2 separate regions of the Homo sapiens genome follow, and region 2 is linked to region 1. The links are contacts of gene promoters, found by promoter capture Hi-C in blood cells and fetal thymus (Javierre and others, 2016). All regions are on one chromosome and are shown on one strand. Each heading gives the region's core, a stretch centred on a gene start or on the middle of the fragment in contact. The rest is flanking DNA. Distances are from core to core; before and after follow the strand shown. Region 1 holds the start of MGP (matrix Gla protein). Region 2 overlaps PDE6H (phosphodiesterase 6H).

The links. The method cuts DNA at HindIII sites, captures the fragments that hold promoters and counts their contacts. A CHiCAGO score of 5 or more calls a contact.
Region 2: a fragment that was not itself captured here is called in contact with the fragment with the promoter of MGP in region 1 in 1 of 17 cell types (total CD8 T cells); the score reaches 7.9 in total CD8 T cells.

Annotation. Positions count from the first base shown.
Region 1 is chr12:14,883,900-14,888,798 of GRCh38, reverse strand. It overlaps MGP (matrix Gla protein), which reads left to right and starts at 2,945. Exons shown (of 4, transcript NM_000900.5): 1 at 2,945-3,068; 2 at 4,554-4,586. The coding sequence starts at 3,008. The HindIII fragment of the contact is 4,253 bases long and covers 1-3,658 here.
Region 2 is chr12:14,975,608-14,980,506 of GRCh38, reverse strand. It overlaps PDE6H (phosphodiesterase 6H), which reads right to left. Exons shown (of 4, transcript NM_006205.3): 2 at 2,361-2,535; 3 at 1,288-1,328. The coding sequence starts at 2,494. Among named protein-coding and RNA genes, the nearest start is that of PDE6H, 5.0 kb to the right of the region's middle. The HindIII fragment of the contact is 187 bases long and covers 2,900-3,086 here.

The DNA.
Region 1 (4,899 bases), core at 1,696-4,195:
TGTCTCATATTTCTGTTATCACTTCTGGGAGTTTCTTCAAATATTCTCTCCTCTGAATAACACTTCTTTTTTGTTAAGGGAAAATGTCTATATAAGTGTCTTTCATAATTATCTAAAATCTAATTAGAATTTAGAGTTTCATGTGGTCTCGTCTTGACAAGATATCCCAATTAAGAAAATGCAAACTAGCTGGCAAAATTAATTTGTTCAAATTTCAATATTTTCTGAAAATTTTCAGACAGTATTCTGCAATCTCAAACAATGCTATTCCTAACCAAAGCAACTTTTATTTCTCTGTTCCCATGTCTCGCTTTTAATATGTCTCACCTTCTACAACTGCCTCCGTTTTTCTCTGTCACTCAGTCTCTACCTAAAACTCACCCAGCAAACCAAATTGGTAAGGCTCTTCTCATTTCCCCTTCTCCGTTTTTTTTTTTTTCCTACTTCCATTCTTTTCTTCTGTCTTCTCTCAGATGAGTCAATCTTGGTCCTTTCTAATGCAAAGCTCCCATCCCTGCTTCATGCGTTAGTCCAAGTCCTCATCATAAAAACATATGACTGGAGTTGGCATTCACAAAGTTGTCTTTGAAATGGGGAGTAAGGTGACAGAGGAGAAAAAGAAGAGCTCTGGATTCTCAGACATGTTAATAATTTTTACATATCATATATAAATGGGATTTTGCAGAGAAGAACCAGAAATAGATGGGAGAGCAATGGACAGGAAAGGCAGATGAGGGACCGAAGAGACACAGCTCCCAAAAGAAAGTTAGCCTTACAAAAACCAAGACGATAAAGAGAAATGCTTAAGTTTAGGGAATCCAGTGGAAGCAGTGATTTAAGGTGAACAAAAGGTGAACCTTAAGTTGAAATGAGAAGTGTAGGATTTTCAAGTTTAGTTTCTGGGAGTGTAAAAATAAAAAAACAATTGTGATGTCAGAGGTTGAAAGATTATAGTTGTCATTTGAACTTGGGGATAAAGGAGACATCTATGACTTGGCTGGAAAAGACAGAGCTAATGTACATTGCAAAGCACATATTTATAGCAGGAAAATGGGAAGATTTCTCTTTAATTCTGGAGATGGAGTGGGGATGGGGAGAGTAGACTACTCATTTTAAGGGTGAAACATTGGAATTCAACTTGTTTGATGTTATATTAATTGGTGGTTAATTACTAAGCTAAGTACGTATAAAACTTTTATCTATGGCTAGCTTGTCCCCCCAAAGTCATGCAATATAGTGAACTGGCTTTCGCACTTTAAATTATTCATTGATCATGTAATGATTCAGATGATTCATCTTCCAAGATGGACACTGAAACTAACACTCATAGTAGGTTGTGGTTTAAAGAGTGGAACAACCGCCAGTCTCATTAGTGGAAATTGTGATGGTTGAATTTATCAAGGATGAACATACACGGTCTTCTTTCTGAGATTTTCTTTAAGATTTTCGCACAGATAATCTATTTCTTAGGTTTTGGAGAGAAAACTTGAATTTTATTGATCCCTCAGAACTCAATCTTTCAGATTTCAAAGGAGCTATTTCTTTTAATGGGGACTCTGTTAATATTTATAAAAGCTCTTCACAGGATGGAGGGTGGGAGGGAAACTCCATCCCAACAAGACAAAAAGAATGAAGCATGAGGCTCCACCTAGTTCATCACTGCTCCTTGAAATACATCAGTATTGAAAGACACATCCACCCCACCCCCAACCCAGCCCTATTGCTGTTCCAGCTCAAGAGTCAGAGGTCCCGAAGCTGTAGCTCTTCTACAATCTGCTGCTCTGTGACTTCAAGTCTGTTGTCTGCAAAGAAAACTATTGGGTTCCCAAGCAAGAGAGGCACATCTGGTAGGACAGATTTTGTGATTGCAAAAGAAGGGGGAAAAAAAGAAAGAAAGAAAAGACCTCTCTATACAAGATAACCAGAGGCATCAAACTGAAATCCTCCTGTGGAAAATAAGCTAGTACTTCTGGGCCTGATGGTGTAGTGAAAACCTGTGCTTGAGGATACATTACAGTGAAAGAGCAAAGTGAATAGTAAGTAGCTATTACTTACCTCCTTAGGGAGGTGTGTTGTTTGTCTGTACATCCCCCACAGCACCTAGCACAGTACCTTGCATCTCACCTGCCACTCACTAAAAAGTCTATCAAGTTAGTTAATTATCGAGACAACGCCCTCAGAAATGAGAGAACAGTACCCTCTTATCCTTGCTGCACTTTCCAGCACTGATACGCTGCCTAAAAGAGGACTAGGGCACAGGTTTGAATTAATGTCACAAAACTGGATGGGCAAGTTACAACGGTGTTGATTAAGGAAACAGAACTCATGGTGCACCGGATATCTCCATCCTGATGAACCCTTGGAAAAATGCCAAAGATGCATATCCCCAGGCAAATGCCTGATTAGTCTGGGATTGATAGATTGGTCTAGGATTCAGCCCTACTGGGAAGATGTCTAAATTATAATCAGTGTAGAAAGCGAAGTTCTCCTAGAAGAAGAGGCAAAGGTTAAAAAGAAGAAAAGAAAAGAAAGTGAAGTCCTTTCTCCCCCAAAACCTCTCATCAATCAATCAGGGTAACAAACAGAACACTAGGGCTCTGTCTGTGGACCAAACCCAAAAGCCCTGCGGTCAGGGCCAGGAGGGTAGATCATGTGTTTGTGGCAACTTCCTCTGTGGGCTTTTGCCCAGGTCTGTCCCCAAGCATACGATGGCCAAAACTTCTGCACCAGAGCAGCATCCTGTGTAACACAGTCAGGTCCAGCAGTTAGGGAAAACTGCCCACTCAGAGTAGATAATATCTGGAAGGAATGACTGTTTGGGAAAAGTTCCAATGCTAGTTCAGTGCCAACCCTTCCCCACCTTCTCCAGCTCTCTCCCACTGGTTCCTCCCCTCTCAACTGCTCTGGTTCTTATAAAAACCTCACAGCCTTCCACTAACATCCCGTAGGAGCCTCTCTCCCTACTGCTGCTACACAAGACCCTGAGACTGACCTGCAGGACGAAACCATGAAGAGCCTGATCCTTCTTGCCATCCTGGCCGCCTTAGCGGTAGTAACTTTGTGTTATGGTGAGAAACTTTTCTCCCATTTCTCTGTGTTTACTTTTCTGCCTCTGACTTTGGCTTACTTCTATTTTTCCTCTCCCTCCTCCTCTTCTTCCCCCTTTCTCTGTTATAATCTTAAAGTACCATTACTTTCACATTTCCCAGTCTCCGCAGAAACTGATCTGTTCTATTAAGTCTTTTTTATATCCTAAATATCCAGAGTCTTATGCAACTTAACAGGCAAACCCGTTCAGTGGTAAGTCTCTGTATATCTAGAAACTCATATTTCAGAAAGAAGATACCAAATTCCCAGCCCCCTGCATCCTCATTTTTAAGGATATTTATTTAGACTTTGGTATCAATGGGTTAAGGGTATTGTTTAAACCACTTGCCTTTGAGAAAATCCATTTTTATGTGAAGTATTAAGTATAGCCCTTTCTAGGGACTGGACAATCTCATGAACTTACTATGTTTGTTCAGTTAATTAATTTTAAAATAAAGTTTTACATCAAAAGAATTTTAGAAAAGAATCATTTTCATAACTCCTGTTGTCAGAAAATAAATTTTGCCTGTTTTCTATATGTCATTAAATATACCTGCATTTGTTCAAAGCTTATAAAAGGAAATCTGAAGCAAAGTTATTTACTTATTTCAGTCTTTTGTTTCAATTACCTAGATATTTTCATTGTTTTAAAATTTAAATTACATTAACAACCATAAAGATTATGCTTCTCACTCTTGTATTCACAAATTTTCTGTATTAGAGGATTTGATTTCTTCACCTCCTTTTTAAGTTTTGAAGAAAATTCACTTGCTGGCAAATATTAATAGAAGCTTCTTATTCCAAAATTTATCTGCTGTGCTCAGGAGAGTGGCAGAAAGAAGAAAACTTCGGCTTTGATATCGTTTCAGTTCTCTCTCTGAACTGGCATCGTGCCCAGGGTGAGCTGTCAGCTGGAGCTAGTGGTTTCTGTGGCTGCCAATTTAACACAGGTTCTTAAGAGGCTTTCGGAACCCTCTTAGAAACCTGCCCTAGTAAGCCCAGCAGAGCAACTGCCCTGTAGTTCTCTTGCCTGGAGAAACCTGGCTGTCTTCTGGATCCTTCTTAATCCTCTTTGACCCTGTTCTCAAACAGGCTCTGAATAAATCAGAGAAGAAGGTTCTCTGGAGACTTCTGTACAGCACTTAAAGTGTCTTATTTTGCTTGTCTGAAGACGTCATAGCCCTTGGGAAATTTTAGCTGAAAATGGCCACTCCCTCCTTCAACATCAGAGAAACTAAAATATAGAGATATCCACAGCAAGGCCAGAGCTAGAGAAAAACCTCATAAATCCTAAATTCCTGAAATTTCTAATAACCACACTGCTAAATATATTCTTCATGTTTTTAGACTCTTTCCTCTTCTTCCATCCCTGTATTTAAACTATCACAGTGTCTAAATTGATAAATAATAACATAATGAATCATGGATAAATATTGATATAATGAATCTTTTTTTTTTAATTTCAGAATCACATGAAAGCATGGAATCTTATGAACTTAGTAAGTGAATATTTAACTTCTTTATTCAAATCCCTTGCATTAAAGAACCTCTTCTTATTTTTAAATAAACAAGATGGAAAGATATATAACAGGGAGGGAAAAGGGGGCCTCTTTTGGAAAACTAAAGTAAATTTTTAAATCTAATGACTATAAAAATTGCCAAAGGAGCAATTTTTTAAGTTTGAAGTAGTGCAATATGGGATTTAAGCTACAGGCGACATATTTAGAAGCCATAAAATCTCATTTGGAAATTTTAAATTGGCACCACGTCAACTGCACAGATGGAAAACGAGGAGTAATGACAAATGGTAAA
Region 2 (4,899 bases), core at 1,744-4,243, 92 kb before region 1:
TACAAGTGCTACTGTTTATCAAAGGTGTGTTGGATGAGTTGAAAATATGTCCACACAAAAGCCTGCACATAAATATTTAGGGGCATTTTATTCATTATTGGCAAAACTTGGAAGAAACCAAGGTATCTTTCAATAGGATAAAAAACTGTGTATATCCCTACAATGGAGTATCATTCCGTGATTTTAAAAAATGAGCTATCAAGCCACATAAAAACATGGAGAAACCTTAAATGAATATGGTTAAATGAAAGAAGCTAGTCCAGAAAAGCTGTATACTGTATGAGTCTAACTATATGACATTCTGGAAAAGGCAAAACTATAGAGACAGTAAGAACATTAGTGGATGTCTGGGGTTTAGAGAGAGAGAGAAGGATGACCGGGTGGAGCATAGGGCAGCGAAACTATTCTGTATGATACTATATGTACTGCAATATGTACTATAATGGTGGGTACATGGTATTTATCAAAACCCTTAGAACTTTACAACACAAGGGATAAAAACTCTAATTCAAGCTATGGAGTTTAATTAACATACTGCATCGACATTGGCTCATCAAATATAATCACACTAATACAAGATGTTAATAATAGAGGAAACTGTGTAAAAGGGGAGAGAGATGGTAGAGAGGACATATAGGAACTCTACTTTCTGCTGAACTTTTCTGTAAGTCTTAAACTCCTCTAAGAAATAAAGTCTATTAATTTAAAAAATATGCAGTGATTGCATTCATTGTATGATACATAAAAATCTGGTAACCAATTTTTAAAATTATATTGCAGGCATTCAGTATGTAAGATCCTCCTCTGGGTGCTAGAGGATGTGTAAAAAGAGGAAATTGGTAAGGAAGTGGTTTGCCAGGTAGAGTGGAGAGATCTCCAGACCTCACCCTTATTTCCAATAGTTCACTTGGTAGCCTCAGACAAAAGACTGCCAATTCCTGTATGTCTCAGATTTCTCCCTTGAAAAATGAAGTTTGGGGAGATGAATTATGAAAATCTTTCTACCATAAAAGTCTATAATTTATCATTGTATGCCCTCAAAGGTTGTTTGACAAAACAAGAAGGTTTATGAAATTTTGGGCCTACCCTGATTTCTTTTAGGGCTTTTGTATCTGGGCACACATGTACTTATTTCGAGGGTAAATTAAATCCCCACATTTCTATGTCTTCACAGATCTTCTGCCTTGGGTATTTCTCATAACTTTCAACTGCCCCTTGAGGCCTGAAGTATATAAAAAGGCAGAACTCCAAGTGCGAAGTTCTCACTTAAATCAGTGGATGGCTTACCTGTTCCTAGCCCCTCCATTCCTGGAATGTCATCTCCAAATCTATGGAAAAGAATAAAGGAGAAATTAGCTGAGATTAGAGCAAAAGAATTTTGGAGTCACTCACATGGAGAGTTTCTTGATTCAAGGGGGAAGAAGGAGAGGTTTAAGTGTTTGTATGTGAGAAACTCCTTTAGTTTGCCCTGAACTGGAGCAAAGAAAATGTCACTCAGGCAGGTTTTGGTGTATCCCACTGGAGAGATATTTCTCTCCTGTAGGAACTTAACCTAAAACAATTAAGAGTCAGAAAGAACCATCAGTGGGACAACTTAGTCAAGTTTCACTTTTTATAATAAAAATTGAAATGAGAAAGCAATACAAAAGGCATTAAAAATGATGAATTCATCCATTTGTTTACTTATTCAAAATCATTAACTAAGCATCTATTATATACCAGGCATTTTATTAAGCACAGAGAGTTAAGAAGAAAACAGACAAATTTTCTGAGTGGTCTTAGCCTCGGAGAATAGATACAAATAAATAAATATAAGATATAATGTAAGTTATGATAGCTGAATGTACAAAATGCAAACATGAAAGTAATGATAGTTTGTTAAAGAGAGTCAGGAGTAGCTTCAAAAAGAAATTAGCATATGATCTGTGTGTTGAAAAATCAATAGGATTTTGCCAAGGAGAGGAAGAGGAAAATAAAGAACTGAGGATACAAAATTGGAAGACATAAATATAAGCTATATTTTCTGGAAATGGTCAGTGGTTCAGTGTTACAGATTAACGTAGAGGTTGTCTCAGTAAAGAGGAGTGGTCATCAAAAGCCTGCAAGGCAAAGTCAAAGTTTATTGTAAAAAGCCTCTATTTGCCATGTTAAATTCGGCCACAGACCTGGAAGTTGAGAAGGAAAGAATTCCAGGGATAAAGACACAATTCATCAAAGATGGAGTTACAGAGGAAAAGAGAGGATGGAGTGGAAATTTTTGTAAGTCTGTTTAATATTGTGAGCACCAATTTCCCAAAACAAAAGCAGTCTTGTGGGAAAAAGAAAGTAATAGAAAGTTTTTCTTTTCATTTTGGTCTTACCCTTTCACACCTTTCTTTGGAGGTTTACTCTTGAATTGGCGAGTCTGCCTCTGCTTGAACTTGGGAGGGCCTTTGCGTGGGGTGGTAGGACCCTGGTTTGAAGCTGGAGCAGGCAGAGTAGTGTTGTCACTCATTTTAACTCCCCCCGGGCGGCTGATGTTTCCCTTTCAGCCTCCTTAGACAGTGAAAGATAAAAAAAAGAAGATCTTTCAAGTCATGGGGACCATTGGTTATTAGATCTTTATTTCAGGCTGGAGAAGAAAAGTACTTCAACAAGAAAGCTCAGTATTTTGTGTTGACACAAAAGGGGAGAAGTTATCATCTTTAAAAGGGATCTTTAAGAAAACAGAGTATAAATCAATGCAGGCACTTAATGGAATGGAATGGAAACTTACCTTCTGCTACATTACTTACACAATCTATCAGTTGTGTAAACGGACAATTGATAGATTTTAAAACTCAGAAATCTAGGTAGCTATGCTGTTCCCATGGATCTGCCACTGAAAACAATTTTTAAATAAATAAATTAAATTAAAGCTTCACATTAGGTATAACAAATTAAAATTTAAAAATAAATAAATAAAATAGATTTGCCACAAGCATTCTACGTGAATTTATTATGATGCTGTACTTCTCTGTGACTACCAGTTCTGTCAGTTACGAAGAGAGGAAAATGGACTCAGTGATATCTATAGTCTTTTACAGCATCTGCAATTTCTTTAAGCTTTACATATTCTTCCATCCAGCTGTAAAATAACCTGACTCTAAATGTTTATTGAGCATTTTTTATGGCCTCTGTTTTTTTATAGTCCTTCATGTCCTTATAGTTTAAGATAGGATTATTTTGTTTAATCCTCACATGAACCAGAAACTTCTCTCTTAGTTCTGGGAGATGACAGTGTAGTTGTCTGGACAGGAGGACCTCTGAAGCAGGAATACCAACACCCATGAATATATTCAACACATCTTAATACACACGCACATACAGAAGTTAATGAAGGATAATTAAGTAATACGTTTGTGCTTCAACTCTACGTCGAGACATAAGGTTCTTCAGCCCCCACTTTTCACAAATCTTCAATGCCTTCTTCTATCCACACCACGGACCTATCCAATATGGTGTTCTCAGACTTTAATTTGGCTACAGAAATGCACATTGCCATTCTTCAAATACAAATCAAAGAAAATTATTGAAAAAGATAAATTTAAGCAATTAATGTGTCATTTTGGATGACGTTATTTTCTTTCTTCCTTTCTTTCGTAAGAGTTAACAAAACTTGCTCTTGGAAGGAAGATCCTGAAAAGCCCCAGAGAACTCCAAATTGCTTTTGCCTCTTACCCTGAGACAGTCTCCTCTATAAAAACTAGTGTGTGGGGGCTTTGTCTCCATAAGATTCCTTATTTCACCCATTGCAGATTTATGCTAATATTCTTTTTTCTTTTTTTTTAAGAGAGACAAGTTCTTGCTCCATCAGCCAGGCTGTAGTGCAGTGGTGCAATTGCAATCATAGCTCACTACAGCCTCAAACTCCTGGGCTCAAGTGACCCTCCCGCCTCAGCCTCCCGAAGTGCTAGGTTTACAGGCATGACCCATCACACCAGCCTATGCTAATACTGTTAACTGCAAACCTCCCTGACAGTCTTTGGCTCGTGCTAACAATGACTCTCTTTACTGGCCACACTGCATATTCCTGAAACCTCATATTCTATAACTTCCAGTCCATACTGTTTTCTTATTTCCTTGACAATTGGGTTGCAATTATTATCCTCGCCTCCAAGATTTTTCTCTTATTTAAATTCTGATTATTACTAAATTATTACCCTTGCCAGTACCAGGGATGGTGAGATTGGCCAGGACCCTGGACCACCTGCTCATGCTGTGATTCCTTCCTTTATCCCCTACTGGACTAGCTTCATGAGGCTGTCCTTCCAGTCTCAGAACCTACAACAGTGCATGGTGTACAGTAATCATGCCATATATATTATATTTGTCAAATGAGTTAATAAATTAATTTAGAAATTGAACAGGCCAGGCACGGTGGCTCACGCCTGTAATCCCAGCACTTTGGGAGGCCGAGGCGGGCGGATCACGAGGTCAGGAGATCAAGACCATCCTGGCTAACACGGTGAAACCCCATCTCTACTAAAAATACAAAAGATTAGCCAGGTGTGGTGGCGGGCACCTGTAGTCCCAGCTACTTGGGAGGCTGAGGCAGGAGAATGGTGTGAACCCAGGAGGTGGAGTTTGCAGTGAGCTGAGATTGTGCCACTGCACTCCAGCCTGGGCGACAGGGCAAGACCCCGTCTCCAAAAAAAAAAAACAAAAAAAAAAAACAAAAGAAATTGAACAAATACTGTAAACCTTGGTCATGAGATCCTGACCCTTTGACTTCTCCATCAGAGCACAGAGAAGTCATTAGCTTTCAGGCTTTAGGAAATGCACTGCCAGTTCCTCTGCTCACTAAATTCAGTTCCCGTTCTGTGGGCCCTCTCTACCCCCGGTAGACAGGCAAACCTTGTGTCTGTCCCAAGTGTGGTT